Linked DNA regions of Homo sapiens: region 2 is linked to region 1. Evidence: promoter capture Hi-C in human tissues and cell types (Jung and others, 2019). All regions are on one chromosome and are shown on one strand. Each heading gives the region's core, a stretch centred on a gene start or on the middle of the fragment in contact. The rest is flanking DNA. Distances are from core to core; before and after follow the strand shown. Region 1 holds the start of E2F5 (E2F transcription factor 5). Region 2 overlaps LRRCC1 (leucine rich repeat and coiled-coil centrosomal protein 1).

Region 1 (7,053 bases), core at 1,199-3,698:
CATATGTTTTTCATACATATATATGAAAACTAAAGACATTCAAACTCTTTTCTAGGAGTATGAAGTCATTAATATAATGAGACAGTGTTATTGTAGAAACCTTTGAATTTTTAGGAGAGTTCCAGAATGAATAAAGCAATTATTGTCATGAAATACCAAACTTTACATCCTACTCACTGCCTCTGTGACTTCTGTAGGGCAATTATATAGCCACAGATGAAACAGGAGGAAGCTAAAGAATTTCAAGTCAAGAAAGGGCAAAGTTCCACCATATCCTGAGGCAAGCTGAGGGAGAAGCCCTCAAAGTCCAGCCGTCAGAGTTCAGTTTTACCTGGAAAACCCCAAACTTCCCTGATTTTCTTACACCAAAGTCACAGGCTACAGCTGAATTTCTAGATTTTGAACAGCAGTTTGCCACCTGTGCTTTGTAACATTCCTGGCTTTCTCTGATAACTTCATGACTTCCTGTGAAATTCTTTAAACAGAATCCATTTTAATTCACTACAATTTAAATACTACACATGCCATAAATCACTTTCAGGGAGAGAAAGGAAGAAGGGGCTGTGGTGGAAAAAAGAGAACAAGGAATTTCCAGAGGTGGGAAAAAAATTCCAGGAATAACATATCAAAAAGAAAATAGTAGAAATTACTTACCAAAATGCAAAATATGTGCAGCATGCCTCAGTTGTATGAAGTTGAACAATTTAGGTAATTCAGTTCAACAATCACTGATTGAACACCAACTACATCCAGGGAAAGGAGAGGGCACTGAAAAGATCTACTTCCCCTTGGGCTACACTGGAGGAGGGCCTCTAGCAGAAGAGTTGGCCCCTGCAAGTCTTGGTCCTTACATTCAGGGAGCTGCCACTGCTTTATGCAGAGCCTTGAGGATGCAGTGACACTCTCAAGCCAGGTAAGGTGGTCCAGGCACTCCCCTGGGAGCTGGGGCCAATCCTCCAAGTAAGGCCACATTTAGGGAGTCAAAGGGGATTTGCAGTGATTATTGGGCAGTTAGTGTTTTTTGTTTGTTTGTTTCTAAAACTTTAGTTCTTAAACTTCGCGCGGAGTGACCACATTCTCATTATCCTGAGCGCTGTTGAATTCTTCCAAATCCTTCCTAGATCGGTTAAGTCATTCTGTATGACAGAACAGCTTTTGATGCCTGCTCCTGTTTGAAAAATCTGAACGCTGTAAAGGACGACGCAGGGAGAGAGTTTACTGAGCACTTCCACCTCTTTGGGTGAAAGTTGTAAAATATCCCCTTTTCGTGTGACAGCAGATCTCACTTTTGGAAACCCATGACACATGCCAAATGAAGTCACAAATCAAATACCCCTCCTAACTATCAGGGTGATGAAAGAAGTGCACAAGGAAGATTTAATACTATTTTATCGGGGAGGGGCGTGGAAAGAAGTACTCTTTTTTTTTTTTCTTTCATCTGGTAGAGATGGCAGACTGGGTTTTGTTTTTCCTCCTTTTTATTTAAACTACAGGAACATGGTTCCAACTGGAATCGCCTATTAAAACCATCCATTCTTAACAGCAAAATCGATATCCACGGTGTCTCCGGGCAAAGCGCCCGTTACCCCGTGAGCCTCTGCCACAGGTGGACGCAGAGCAACAGACACTCGGTTACCCTCAGGTCCCTGCGCCCGGAGACAGAAGCCACGCGGGCGCGCTCGAGGTCCTGGGCTCTTTGTCGAGAGCCCAGCGTGGCGCCGGGCCCCATTGGTTACGCGTCCGCTCGGTGCCATCCTGGTCCCTCGTCCCTCCCCCATCCCGGCGTCCACGACCCGGGCGCAGGCCACATGGTCCTCGGATTGCCCGGTCCCGGGTCCCCGCAAGGCGCGTCTACACCACGCCGCTAGACCCACGCGGCGAGGGGCTGGGCTTCCCCGGGGGCCACGGGTTCCGAAGTCCGCCCCCGTCCCCGCCTCCGGAGCTCACCGCTTTGAGATCCAGAACGCCGTCCTTGGCCTCCTGCAGCAGCGACACGAACTTGGTAGTGAGCAGCCCCAGGCTCTTCTCGTGCCTGCTGCTGCCGCCCCCGGCGCCCCCGAGCTGCGGCGGCGGGGGCGGCTGCGGGGCTTGCGCCTGCGGAGGCTGCGGCGGCGGCCGCTGGCCCTGCCCCTGCCCTGCCGGCGCCTGCTGGCCCGAGCTCGCGGGCTCTGCCGCCGCCATCGCGTCCCGGCCCCGCGGTGGTCGGGCCCCCGCGCACTTTCGCTCGCCGGCCCCGCCCGCGGCCACCTGCCGGGTCGGCTCCGCTGCGGCCGCTTCCCCGCCCGCCGAGAGCGGTAGTGCGGGTCGCTGGCTGCTGCAAACAACAGGTGTGCGGCGCCCACGGGAGTCTGGGCCGCTTGTCACGCCGGGCCTCCGCCCCCTCCCCAAGCCCGGGGAAGCGTGAATGAGGCCCACGACCGAGGGGGGAGGGGTGGAAACGAGGAGAAGGGGCTGCGAGGGGTGGGGACCTGAGTTTAAATGGCAGGAAGTGACGCCGCCGCCCGCCGTTGCCTAGAAACACATTTTTCTGTAGGAAGGAGGAGCGCACGAGGAGGAGGAGGGGTGTTGGCGCGTGTGTTTCACACTCGCCTCCCTGGCGTTCGCGAGCTGACCCGAGGAGTGGTAATCTCACGCGGCAAAGCAGGGAGGAAGAAAAAAAGGAGACAAAAGAAAAAAAGACTTTTATCTGGGCAGAAAGTCACAATGCCTAGCGGCCAAACGTTTGTGAGCGGTGAAGTTGGTTGACTGCTCAAGTTTGCAGAGCTTCAGCAGTAGGTTACTTTCTCTGGACGGTTTCTGCTATCTTTGCTCTTTTCGAGCTCTAGCATCGTTTGCAAATATTTCAATGACTTGGACCAAGTGCAGAGTTTTACTTCATAGCTCACCCTTTTAGATTCGGAGTACAGAAAAAGGCATCGTGGAGTTTTAGGGTTGGTTTTCATCAATCCTTTCCAAGGCCTTTACTTTCTACATGGAGAAACGTGTAGAGGGAGAGGTTGTGAATTGCCAAAGACATGCCGTTAGATTCCAGATCTCCTGTGTTTGACCAAAGTTCTTGACCAAAGTTCTTAATATCTTATTTGAACCAAATTATATTGTATTTGGAATATTGGGTAGCCACAGGCCCTTGGACTTCAGTGATATTCCAAACTATTGATGGCAAATGACATTATGGAGATCTGAGTAAAAGAAAGTCGTTGGGATTTTTTCCTCATTATATTACAAACTCTTGAGAATCCAGACTAAATTTTAAATGACTTGTTGTCACACTCAACACTTTGAATATAGTAGACAATAAAGATTAGGCGAATGAGACCAGGCGCGGTGGCTTACGCCTGTAATCCCAGCACTTTGGGAGGCCGAGGCAGGCAGATCATTTGAGATCAGGAGTTCGAGACCAACCTGGCCAACATGGTAAAACCCCGTCTCTACTAAAAATACAAAAATTAGCGGGGGGTGGTGGTGCCCGCCTATAGTCCCAGCTACTCCAGAGCCTGAGGCAGGAGAATCTCTTAAACCCAGGAGGCAGACGTTGCAGTGTTGCAGTGAGCCGAGATGCCACCACTGCACTTCAGCCTGGGCAACAAAGCAAGACTCTGTCTCAAATAAAAAAAAAAAAGATTAGGTGAATGAAAATTCTATATGGCAATAATTAATCAAGAAGATTTCATGCAAGAAAGATTTTGCTTAATTTTAAGTAACAATAAACTAACAAAAAAGGTCACTGAAGCGACATCAAATACAACAGCATTAACTAGTAAAGCTGAACACACCATTTATAACACATCATAGGCACAGAACTTTATAACCTTTATTAATAACCTATTCATAATAACCTTTATTTTAATCAAATCTATAAACAAAACTTAAAATTGAAAATCTGAAGTAAAACATGAAAAATTCAGTTGATACAACCATTTTCCAACAACCTATCCAAGAAAGGCTATCTTTATTTGATTTGACATGGGACACATCATTGACAAGTTTTGCAAATTTATTTTATTGATTATTGTCAAGTAGTATTTCTTAGAACATACTGAATTAGGAAGATTCTAATTTGTTTTTAACTTTATAACAGAACATTGTGTTATATGTGCAGGGACAGGAATTAATAACACTAAATGTATTAATATTTTTAAAACTTACACTTCTATGGTGTCTTAGTTTGAGAAAGTACCATAAACTGGGTGACTTAACGGAAATTAATTTTCTCACAGTTCTGGAGGCTGCAAGTCGACGATCAGGAGGCTGCCATGGCCAGGTTGTGGTGAGGGCCCCCTTCTTGGCTGTCAGATTGTGGCTTTCTCATTGTGTCAAATGGCAGAGAGAGAGAGAAAGACAGACAGAACAGAGACAGCATAAGCTCTCAGATTTCTTATAAGGGCACTAATTCCATCTGAGGGCTCAATCTTCACGATTTCATCTAAACCTAATCACCTCCCAAAGGCCCGAGGGTTAGGGTTTCAACATACAAATGTTGGGGAGATATAGTTCATCCCATGGCATGTAATCATATTTTATAGTAGCTATCTTGGTAATTTTTAAAAACAATATTTTTTAAATTTCAGCTTTAAAAGGTTTTCTACAAAGCAATTATATTATTAGTGATTCTAAAAGGTCAATTAACAATTTATTTTGCACTGTTATTTGTGTTTTTCACAATGAATTTTTTATCTCTTTAGATTGCCTGGGGTTCAATTAGAAATTATTCACAAATTAGCAGCCATTTTAATTAGCATTCAAAATCTTATGTCTGTCTGAAGAGCTAAAAATCGCTTATACCAGTGGTTCCCAGACCTTAGGGGAAAAAATCATCTACAATGTTTGTTAAAAATCTAGATGCTTGGATCCAAACCCCAGGGATCAAATTAGCATTTGATATGAGAATATGACCTGTGAGTCCACATTTTTCACAGTTCAGATAATTCTCATGCACAACATAGTCATTCTTTGAGAAACGCCAAATAGCACAATGAAAAATAATGCAATATATATTTTTCCTAAAAATCGACAAAAAACAGAGATTGATAATGCAAAAGTTTTTTAAATATTGCTAAATGTTTTTAAAAATTCTATTTTTTAAAAAAACTAAGAAACATGATTTTTTAAAAGTTATGATACAAATAATGTTTAAGAACATGATATTGATCAGTTTTGTAATTTAACTTTTATTTCTGTATCCTTTTGACTATAAAGGAGATAACTCTCAAAAGGCTGTAAATTCCTACATCAGTTCTTTGTGCCATTTCTGACAAAGGCTTAAAAATTATTTCCAACAAAAGTCAAAGCTGGCTGAGTGCTCACGCCTGGCTGGGCACTCACGCCTGTCTGTAATCCTAGCACTTTGGAGGGCTGAGAGAAGAGGATTGCCTGAACCCAGGAACTCAGGACCAGCCTGGACAACATGGCAAAACCCCATTTCTACAAAAACTACAAAAATTAGCTGGGCGTGGTAGTGCACACTTGTAGTCCCAGCCACTAGAGAGGCTGAGGTGAGAGGATCACTTGAGCCCAAGAGGTCAAGGATGTAGTGACCTGTCATCCTGCCACTGCAATCCAGCCTGAGTGACAGAGTGAGAATCTATCCTAAAAAAAAAAAAAAAAAAAAAAATCCAATTGAACTAAACTATATTTCATTGACCTATAAGGGTAATAAATGCATAACAGTAATCCTTCATTAAATTCAATTTACGCTGATTAGTTGGGTAGATACTATTTTCAATTATAATATTGTTTATATGCCCCTGGTTAAATTTTCTTTTTTTAAATGCATTTTGGAAGTGCAGCTCCTTAGCTAGTTCAGGACTAAGAAGGAAGGCTTAAATATTTCAAAACAGAATGATTTCTTAGTCCACAGCTCATTAAACTTATAGTATCTAACATTTGTGGAATTTCACAAATGCCATTTTTATAGAGATTCAGGATCAATTTAAAATATGCACAGTTTTGTCATAATCTGGTAGTTAAATATTTAAGAAAATCCAACAAAATTTTACTTGTTTATTGATGATGACAGACTGACTTTTTTTTTTTTTTTTGAGATGGAGTTTTGCTCTTGTTGCCCAGGCTGGAGTGCAATGGCATGATCTCAGCTCACTGCAACCTCTGCTTCCCAGGTTCAAGAGATTCTCCTGCCTTAGCCTCCCTAGTAGCTGGGATTACAGGCATGCACCACCATGCCCAGCTAATTTTGTTTTTTTAGTAGAGGCAGGGTTTCGCCATTTTGGTCAGGCTGGTTTTGAACTCCTGACCTCAGGTGATCCACCCACCCTGGTCTGCCAAAGTGTTGGGATTACAGGCATGAGCCACCATACCTGGCCATGCAGACTGATTTTTTAAGTGCATTAGCCCATTCGGTGATCATGAATGGTTGGAACTTTAGACTCTCAGATGCCCTTTGAGCTAACAAATCTCCATCAAAAGACTGCTACATCAACCCTAATACCTTCTTCTTGTAATCTAAGTTAATGAAAATAAAATACAGTTTTCCATTTTTCCTTTCAAAACCTTGCAACATACAGGCCAGGCACGGTGGCTCACACCTGTAACCCCAGCACTTTGAGAGGTCAAGGTGGGTGGATCACCTGAGGTCAGGAGTTCGAGACCAGCCTGGCCAACATGGTGAAACCCTGTCTCTACTAAACATACGAAAAATTAGCGAGCATATTGCCATGCGCTTGTAATCCTAGCTACTCAGGAGACTGAGGCAGGAGAATCACTTGAACCTGGGAGGCAGAGGTTGCAGTGAGCCGAGATCGCACCATTGCACTCCAGCCTGGACAACAAGAGTGAAACTCCGTCAAAAAAACAAACAAACAAACAAAAAACCTTGCAACATACAAACATCTATCTTCTGCACTTTCTATGTTAAAAAAAAAGATATGTTTCAAAGATTATGAATCTTTTTATTATGATAAACAACAACATTCTTTGCCCACTCATGATATGCTTGGTACAAAACTATGAGAGAAAATGCATAGACTTTGTCTTCAGAAGTTTGTATCCTATAAGTAGAAACAGGAAATGCAGATTACTCTCAAGCATACATAGAAA
Region 2 (7,250 bases), core at 1,820-4,319, 46 kb after region 1:
GTGTAAATGAAGGGGAAGGTAGTAGGAGATGAACTCAGAGGGTTAGATTGTGAAGTGTTTTGACCACTACTCTGAATAAAATGAAGGGACAATGGAGGTCTTTGAAGAGAGGAGTCATATTACCAAACATGTATTTTAAAAGAACATTCTAGCTGCTGTGTTTGGCATAAACAGAGGGGGGTAGGGGAAGGATAGAGGCAGGAAGATTAACTTGAAAGCTCTTAATATAATACAAGATACTGTGACATACCAGAGTGGCTGTGTTAGAGGTGGTAAGAAATGGCCACATGTATATTTTTTAAATAAGGGTGACAGAATCTCTTGAGGTACTGAATGTGTAGTGTCACAGAAAGAGTAATCAACAATGACTTTGTTTTTGGCTTAAGCACCTAGAAGGATGGAGTTGTCTTTAACTGGGACAGGAGAAATGTCAAAGTAGAAGGTTTGGGGGTAAAATTAGCAGTGAAGTAGAATATGTTAAATAGGTGGTTAGACATAGAAGTTTAAAATTCTTGCAAAACGTCCAGGCTGGAGATATAATGATGCTAGAGGAGTTTACCAAGAGAATGAGTGTGTATAGAAAAGAAAAGGAATTTAAGGGCTGAAAACTTGGGCACTGCAATAATGAAACTGTGGACAAAAGAGAAACAAAGAGACTGAAAAGAAGTGACGTAATGGAAAGCCAAGAAAACCAAGAAATGCAGTGTGCTGGAAACCAAGCAAAGAAAGAGTATGGAAGAGGAGAAAGCTATCAACCCTGTCTAATCCTGCACCTAGGTCAAATCAGATGAGGACAAATTTGACTCACAACTTTCATAGTGTGGATATTGCTGGTGGCTTTGATAGCGCAATGCTAGTAGAGCAATAGAGATAAAAGCCAGATGAGAGCAGGTTGGAGAAGAGAGAAGTAGAGAAATCAAAGACAGCAAATGCACAATTTTGATATGTTCTGTTGTAAATGGAAGCAGAGAAACAACATAGTAGTCAAAGGAAGAAATGGAATCAAGAGAGTTTTCTTAAGATAAGAGAAATCACAGCATGTTTGTATGCTGAAGGGAATGATCCAATATAGCGGAAAAACTGAAGATGTAAGAGAGTAAGAAAGAAGACTTACTGAAGCCATATCTTTAAGTAGGCAAGAGGAAATGGGATCTACTATACGTTTGGTGGGACTGGTCAGAGGAGCACAATTATTCCTCTATAGCAGGGGTTACCAAACTTTTTCTAGAAAGTACCAGACAGTAAACTGTTAGGCTATACAGGCCAGGCCATATGAACTCTGTTGAAAGTACTCAACTACGGCTGGGCACAGTGGCTCACGCCTGTAATCCCAGGACTTTGGGAGGCCGAGGCAGGCGGATCATCTGAGATCAGGAGTTCGAGACCAGCCTGACCAACATGATGAAATCCTGTCTCTACTAAAAATACAAAAATTAGGCGGGCGTGGTGGCCTGTGACTGTAGTCCCAGCTACTTGGGAGGCTGAGACAGCAGAACTGCTTGAATCTGGGAGGCAGAAATTGGAGTGAGCCAAGATCATGCCACTGCACCATTCCAGCCTGGGCAACAGAGCGAGACTCTATCTGAAACAAAAAAAAAAAAAAAAAAAAAAAAAAAAGAAAGTACTCAACTGTGCTTTTGTAATGGAAAAGCAGCCATAGATAATATGTAAAAAATGAGCATGGCTCTGTTCCAAAAAAGCTTTACTTTAAAGAGAAATAGGCAGTGGGCCATATTTGGCCTGGGGGCTTTAGTTTTGCCAATCCCTGCTCTACAGTAATAGGAGGGAATTCAGGTTCTCAGATTCCTATTCCAGTGCTCTATAACATTTATAATCTTACTTAGTTTTTGCAAGAGCAGTAAATAGTAGCTATTATTTATTTGAGGAAACTAAGGCCTCTAAGAATTTATATATTTTACTTAAGATTATGAAGCCAACATTTAATACAGCTATGTTTCTAAAACAAGTCCTCTCATCAAACCATATCTTACTGATTCTGTTTTCAATAAAAAGCTGGGTGCCAATTCTTACATCTTGAAATCTTCTGGCTTCAACAGTTAAAGCAATACGGAATTCATTTTCTAAATCCATATACTGCTGGCTTAACACGTCAATTTTCTCTTGGTATTCTTTTATCATTTGCTCATGCTTTTTCTCTTCTTTGGCTATTTCTTTAGCTAAGGCATCCTGGAAGTCAGCATCAGTAAAAAACTCCCTTGTTTCAAGTTCCTTCCTGGAGTGAAAAACATATAAAGATAAAAGGATGATACTCACCTGAAAAGAAACATTTTAAAGGTCTTTACGTAGTTCTTAATATTCTATATTCAGTATTGTTAATTCAGTATCAGCCTCTCACTTTCAAACGCAGTAATTGGGCATAGATAGGTACAAATAATATGAGTTTTATTTGATTGTGTATTTAATAGTGATGGAGATAAGGGAAGTATGTCAAATCTTAACTTCATGAGATAGTTCAGAATCATTCTATGGCTTCAGAAATTCTTCAGATGCATTTGCATAAGATGCTTCACTGTATCTACTACTTTGGCCGAGTCTTTGACTTGCAATAAATACAGTCTGATTAGCACTGGTGGTTTGTTAATAGAAAAAGTCAGTTAAAGTGTAAAATTATTTACTAATCTTTTGATATTGGGCCAGTTAGTTCATTCTTTACGGTTCTCCACTACTTTTCTTGCATTACTCAAACTCATAATGTGAAACCCATTATTTCCAGTTTTTGGTTTCTTTAAACTGGAATGAAACTAAGTAAAGGAAACTAAGTACAAAATTCCTGTAAAGGAAACAAAGTACAAAATTCTAGATTTTTGTGATTATTTTCCCCCAATCTTTTATAATTGTCTCATCTATACAAGATAACAATTTTCCCCAGAGCACCAAAATTTATGTAGACACAAAACAAAACAGGTTTCGGAATAAATACAATTAACATATGATAATCATACAATTTCACTGGTAGGATAGTAAATAGATAACTGAAATAGATAAACTGAAAATGTTGAAATTATTACAGATTCTGTAGAGCAAGAGTTGAGAAACTACAGCCCATCAGCCAAATGTGACCTACTGCCTTTTTCTTTGTAAATACACTTTTATTGGAACACAGCCATGCCGTTCATTTATGTATTATCTATGGCTACTTTTGTGCTACAAAGGCAAAGTTAGGTATGGCCTGCAGAGCCTGAAATATTTTCTATGTGACCCTTTACAGAAAAAGTTCACTGACCCCTCCTTCAGAGGAATAAAGAATACTGATTAATTTACTAATTAATTAACTTGGGGGTCAATTAAAAATTTTCTCTCTATATAAAGACCAACTTTTGGCTGGGTTTGAAGAAATGAACAATAAGCTATATTGTTATAAACCTATACCTCAAATGCTGATAACAAAGGCAACTATTCATTTTTTAGCTACTAGTTCTTGCTATAGGGCTGATTCTAATGTATACATACATGAACACGGCATTTTCCACTAACTAATTCTGTCAGACTTCACCAATGCTCAATCACTATCTTTAAATACTGGTGGTGGGGGCCAGGCGCGGTGGCTCATGCCTGTAATCTCAGCACTTTGGGAGGCCGAGTGGGGCAGATCATGAGGTCAGGAGATCGAGACCATCCTGGTTAACATGGTGAAACCCCATCTCTACTAAAAATACAAAAAAAAAAAAAATTAGCCAGCATGGTGGCGGGCGCCTGTAGTCCCAGCTACTCGGGAGGCTGAGGCAGGAGAATGGCGTGAACTCGGGAGGCAGAGCTTGCAGTGAGCCGAGATTGCGCCATTGCACTCCAGCCTGGACGACAGAGCAAGACTCCGTCTCAAAAAAAAAAAAAAAAAATACTGGTAGTGGGGAACCAGTAGCTTTCTTTTTCTTTTTTTAAATGCCAATACATTCCTGATACATTTTTCATTTACCTGTGTTCCTGTTCTTTCAATGCAAGAAGTTGATGAAGTTGTTGCGCTTGTTCTCTTTCTCGATGAAGGGAAGTTCTAAGTAAGTATATTTCTCTATCGGCAGCTGAAGCTTTGAGTTCCACCTCTTGGATCAGTCTTATCTGAGTAAAATACCCACAATTACATTATTTAGATAATAGTCTCCCCTGCTATTTTAATGTCAGTTTCCATAAGTACCTTTTAAATGACAGTGTCCGGTGACTAAGTTGATTTTCAAACTTTAATAAATTAATGATGTTACAGTCACACAAAGTGCAGCCTTGGAAGGAACAAATACACTAGCATTAACTATTGCTTATTTGCATCACAGATTTTAATGATAATTTCCATTCAGAAAGCATGAAAATGAAATTCCTTCAATCACCTGAAAGCCTTTTAAAAAGCCAGCTCTCTCAGAATAAAAGCCTAACCACCTGCAACATTTCCATCAACTTTTCTTTTTAATTGCTTTGTGTTAAGAGCTAGTAGTCTTAATTTAGACATAATTCAACAGGCTATGTGACCGTTAAATTAACAGCAATTTAATTTTTGCATATGGCCTTACATCTTTTAGGTTTTCTAGGTAGTATAATTTGTTTCACGATAGAAGCTATGAATTTGTGTTAATCTGTGCTACTCATATATTAAAATAGAGAAATACCTGTGCTGCCTGCTGCTGCCTTTTTTGTCTCTCCATTTTTTCTAATGTTTTTTCGAGGGTTCTTAAGTGTTTAAGGTGATCCTCTTGTTGATCTTTTGCTTTCATTAGTTCAACAGTCAGTTTTTTAATTTCATTTTGAAGTTTGTGAACCATAACTTCGAGTTGTCCTTTGGAATTTCTCTCTCTAAAAATAATTTCCTTTAGCCTAAAGCAGAAGTTATATGTGGTGTTAAGTATATTACACATATAAAAATGATAAAATTGTTGACTTCAATGAGAGTACTCTCTGAACTGGTCTTCCTTTGTTCATGCTCTCAACTCCTGTTTGATATGCTATATGAAAGCGTGCTAGACTGTATATGGGTAGGGGCAGGGAAAGCCACAGAGAAACAGAAATGGAACAATCATCTAAGCAACAGTTAAGGGCCTAAAGAAAGGTAACAGTTTTGGGATACAGAGGAGATAGTTCAACATCTTTTAAGATGATATCAATATCAATTGATGAATAAAAGTATCAATAAAGATGGTAATATCAACTGGTTGTGGGATAGGAGAAAGAGAAAGGAAGCAAAAAACAAAGATTCCTAGATTTCTATAGTTTTGGTGACTGACTGGATGCTGGATGGGGCACCATTTATTAGGGCAAGAAATATAAAATAAGGAAGAAGAATGAATCCACCTGAGGCCATGGTGATCTTAAGAAACTTATGAGGAATACAGGCAAGGCATTTTTAGTAGATAATTAGATGAACAGATCTGGTCATCAAGGAGGTTTGGATAATAAAGATACCATAGTAGGTAAGATTCATTTTTTGAAATTGTATATACTCACAGCATGGCACCCACATGCCAGACCCTGCATTAGGGATACAGAGTCCCTACCAAGGCACATAAGGGAACAGGGAGATTGGTAAGGATCTAATCTCAAACAAACATGTGGTGGTGGGGGGGGTGGGGGGGTGGCACAGATAAAAGAAGAATCAGAAAAGATTGATTTTTCATGAGAAAAATGAATACATAACTTGGGAAACACGGGCACAACAATAGGTTAAGTAAGAAGAAAGATAAAGTGTGCCCAAAGTCTTCCAGTTTAAATGGACTTTGGCTAGCAGCCCTAGACACAGCGTCCTCTAATATCCCACTAAATACCTAGAATACAGAATAAAGTAAAAATTCATACACATATAACTGAAAACAAAGGATAAGAGAATGCCAAAATTTGGGAATAATTTCAATTACAAGGCAAATGGAACTAAATTGAAATTAAAAACAACTCCTACAACACTCAGGCTTTGCCTCATGAAACTGCTCCATTCTGAAAAAAGGAAGACATATCTTTTCTCTTCTACTATCTGTCCATGACTCAGTCACAAGATCTCTATAAATCTGTCACTACATAATGTTGGTTACTCATGCACTTACTGAAAGCAGGAGTGCTGTTTTTCTGAGGTAGTCAGAGCACTCTTAATTGAGACATCCTGTTCCCTCATCCATACCCAGTAGCTTCTTGTGTCAATTCAGACAGACATTTATAAAACACAAATAAGGCAGGAAGTTGGTGGGTAGTGGTAGAAGGGCTAGTGATAACATAACGCATCACAGCTTTATAATTATAGAGGTTCTCATAGCATGCATGTTGCGTATTAGAATTGTCCTTATACTCCACAGGTACAACCTATCAGAGAAACATGCAGTGGGGTAGAAAACACCACGTCAGTATCACAAAAGTGCCTAAAAGAAATCGGGAACTGGGCTGTGAACTGTGTACATCAACTTATCCAAATCAGATTTTAGAAGGGGAATTATCCACTGCACAATCAGACAAGAAATGGAACCAAGAGCAACTTCCCAAAGTGTGTTAGCAAATGTCAAGTCTAAAAACCTAGTGCTCATTCAAGGGTAAGAAACCATAAGAAACTCTAAACATGTTATAATCATTTGAGGAAAAGCATGACGTTAGAAATAATTACAGGAAACAGAAGAAAAAAAGTTATTGTAATTTAAAAAACTGGTATTTTCACAGAATGAAATGACAGACCTGTATTAAAGAATGCAATACAACAAAACAAAACAAAACAAAAAACCCAGATAAAATGGGAGACGTAATGGTGAGGATAGAATAAAAACATCAGAATTAAGAAACTGGGCTATATGATACAAAAGCCCATTGCAGAAGATAAGTATGTGATGAGATCAAATATGACCCATGAAGCTTAAAGAAAAAGGCTGCCAATGCCTGCCCTTTACAGAATCTGGCACTTTACATAAAGTTTGTTAATCACTGCTCTAGTCTCTTGCTGTTCTTTACTTATAATATTTATCTGACACCTTCCTGCTTGAGGGCTCAAATACATGTACCTGAATTTCTTGTTGATATAACAAGCTAATAAAGTGCTAAATTGTCTAATAAAATTAGTTCAAATCAAACTAAAACCACATACATTGTTGTTGATTGAACCACACTGAAACTAATGTATTCCAGTTCTAAAGTCAGTATTGTTTATGCTATGAGGTATCTTCAGGTTTATTAATTTCTTTTTACCTATCTGTGGTAAGTAGAGCCAGACTATGAATATCCTCTTTTTCATTTGCATGTTTATGCAGCTCATCAATATAATCCATGAGTTTATTTTCGGC

What was found. Contacts are between HindIII fragments. The study calls those that stand out against the background at their distance.
Region 2: a contact is called between a fragment that was not itself captured here and the fragment with the promoter of E2F5 in region 1, in 1 of the 25 tissues and cell types used here (stomach).

Annotation. Positions count from the first base shown.
Region 1 is chr8:85,172,549-85,179,601 of GRCh38, reverse strand. It overlaps E2F5 (E2F transcription factor 5), which reads right to left and starts at 2,448. Exons shown (of 8, transcript NM_001951.4): 1 at 1,948-2,448. The coding sequence starts at 2,181. E2F5-DT (E2F5 divergent transcript) reads left to right here and starts at 2,561. Exons shown (of 3, transcript NR_134311.1): 1 at 2,561-2,771. RefSeq lists silencers at 1,588-1,977, 1,988-2,517 and an enhancer at 2,618-2,787. The HindIII fragment of the contact is 23,089 bases long and covers 1-7,053 here.
Region 2 is chr8:85,126,743-85,133,992 of GRCh38, reverse strand. LRRCC1 (leucine rich repeat and coiled-coil centrosomal protein 1) reads right to left here. Exons shown (of 19, transcript NM_033402.5): 9 at 7,156-7,250; 10 at 4,614-4,818; 11 at 3,935-4,074; 12 at 2,032-2,233. Among named protein-coding and RNA genes, the nearest start is that of LRRCC1, 23 kb to the right of the region's middle. The HindIII fragment of the contact is 4,731 bases long and covers 704-5,434 here.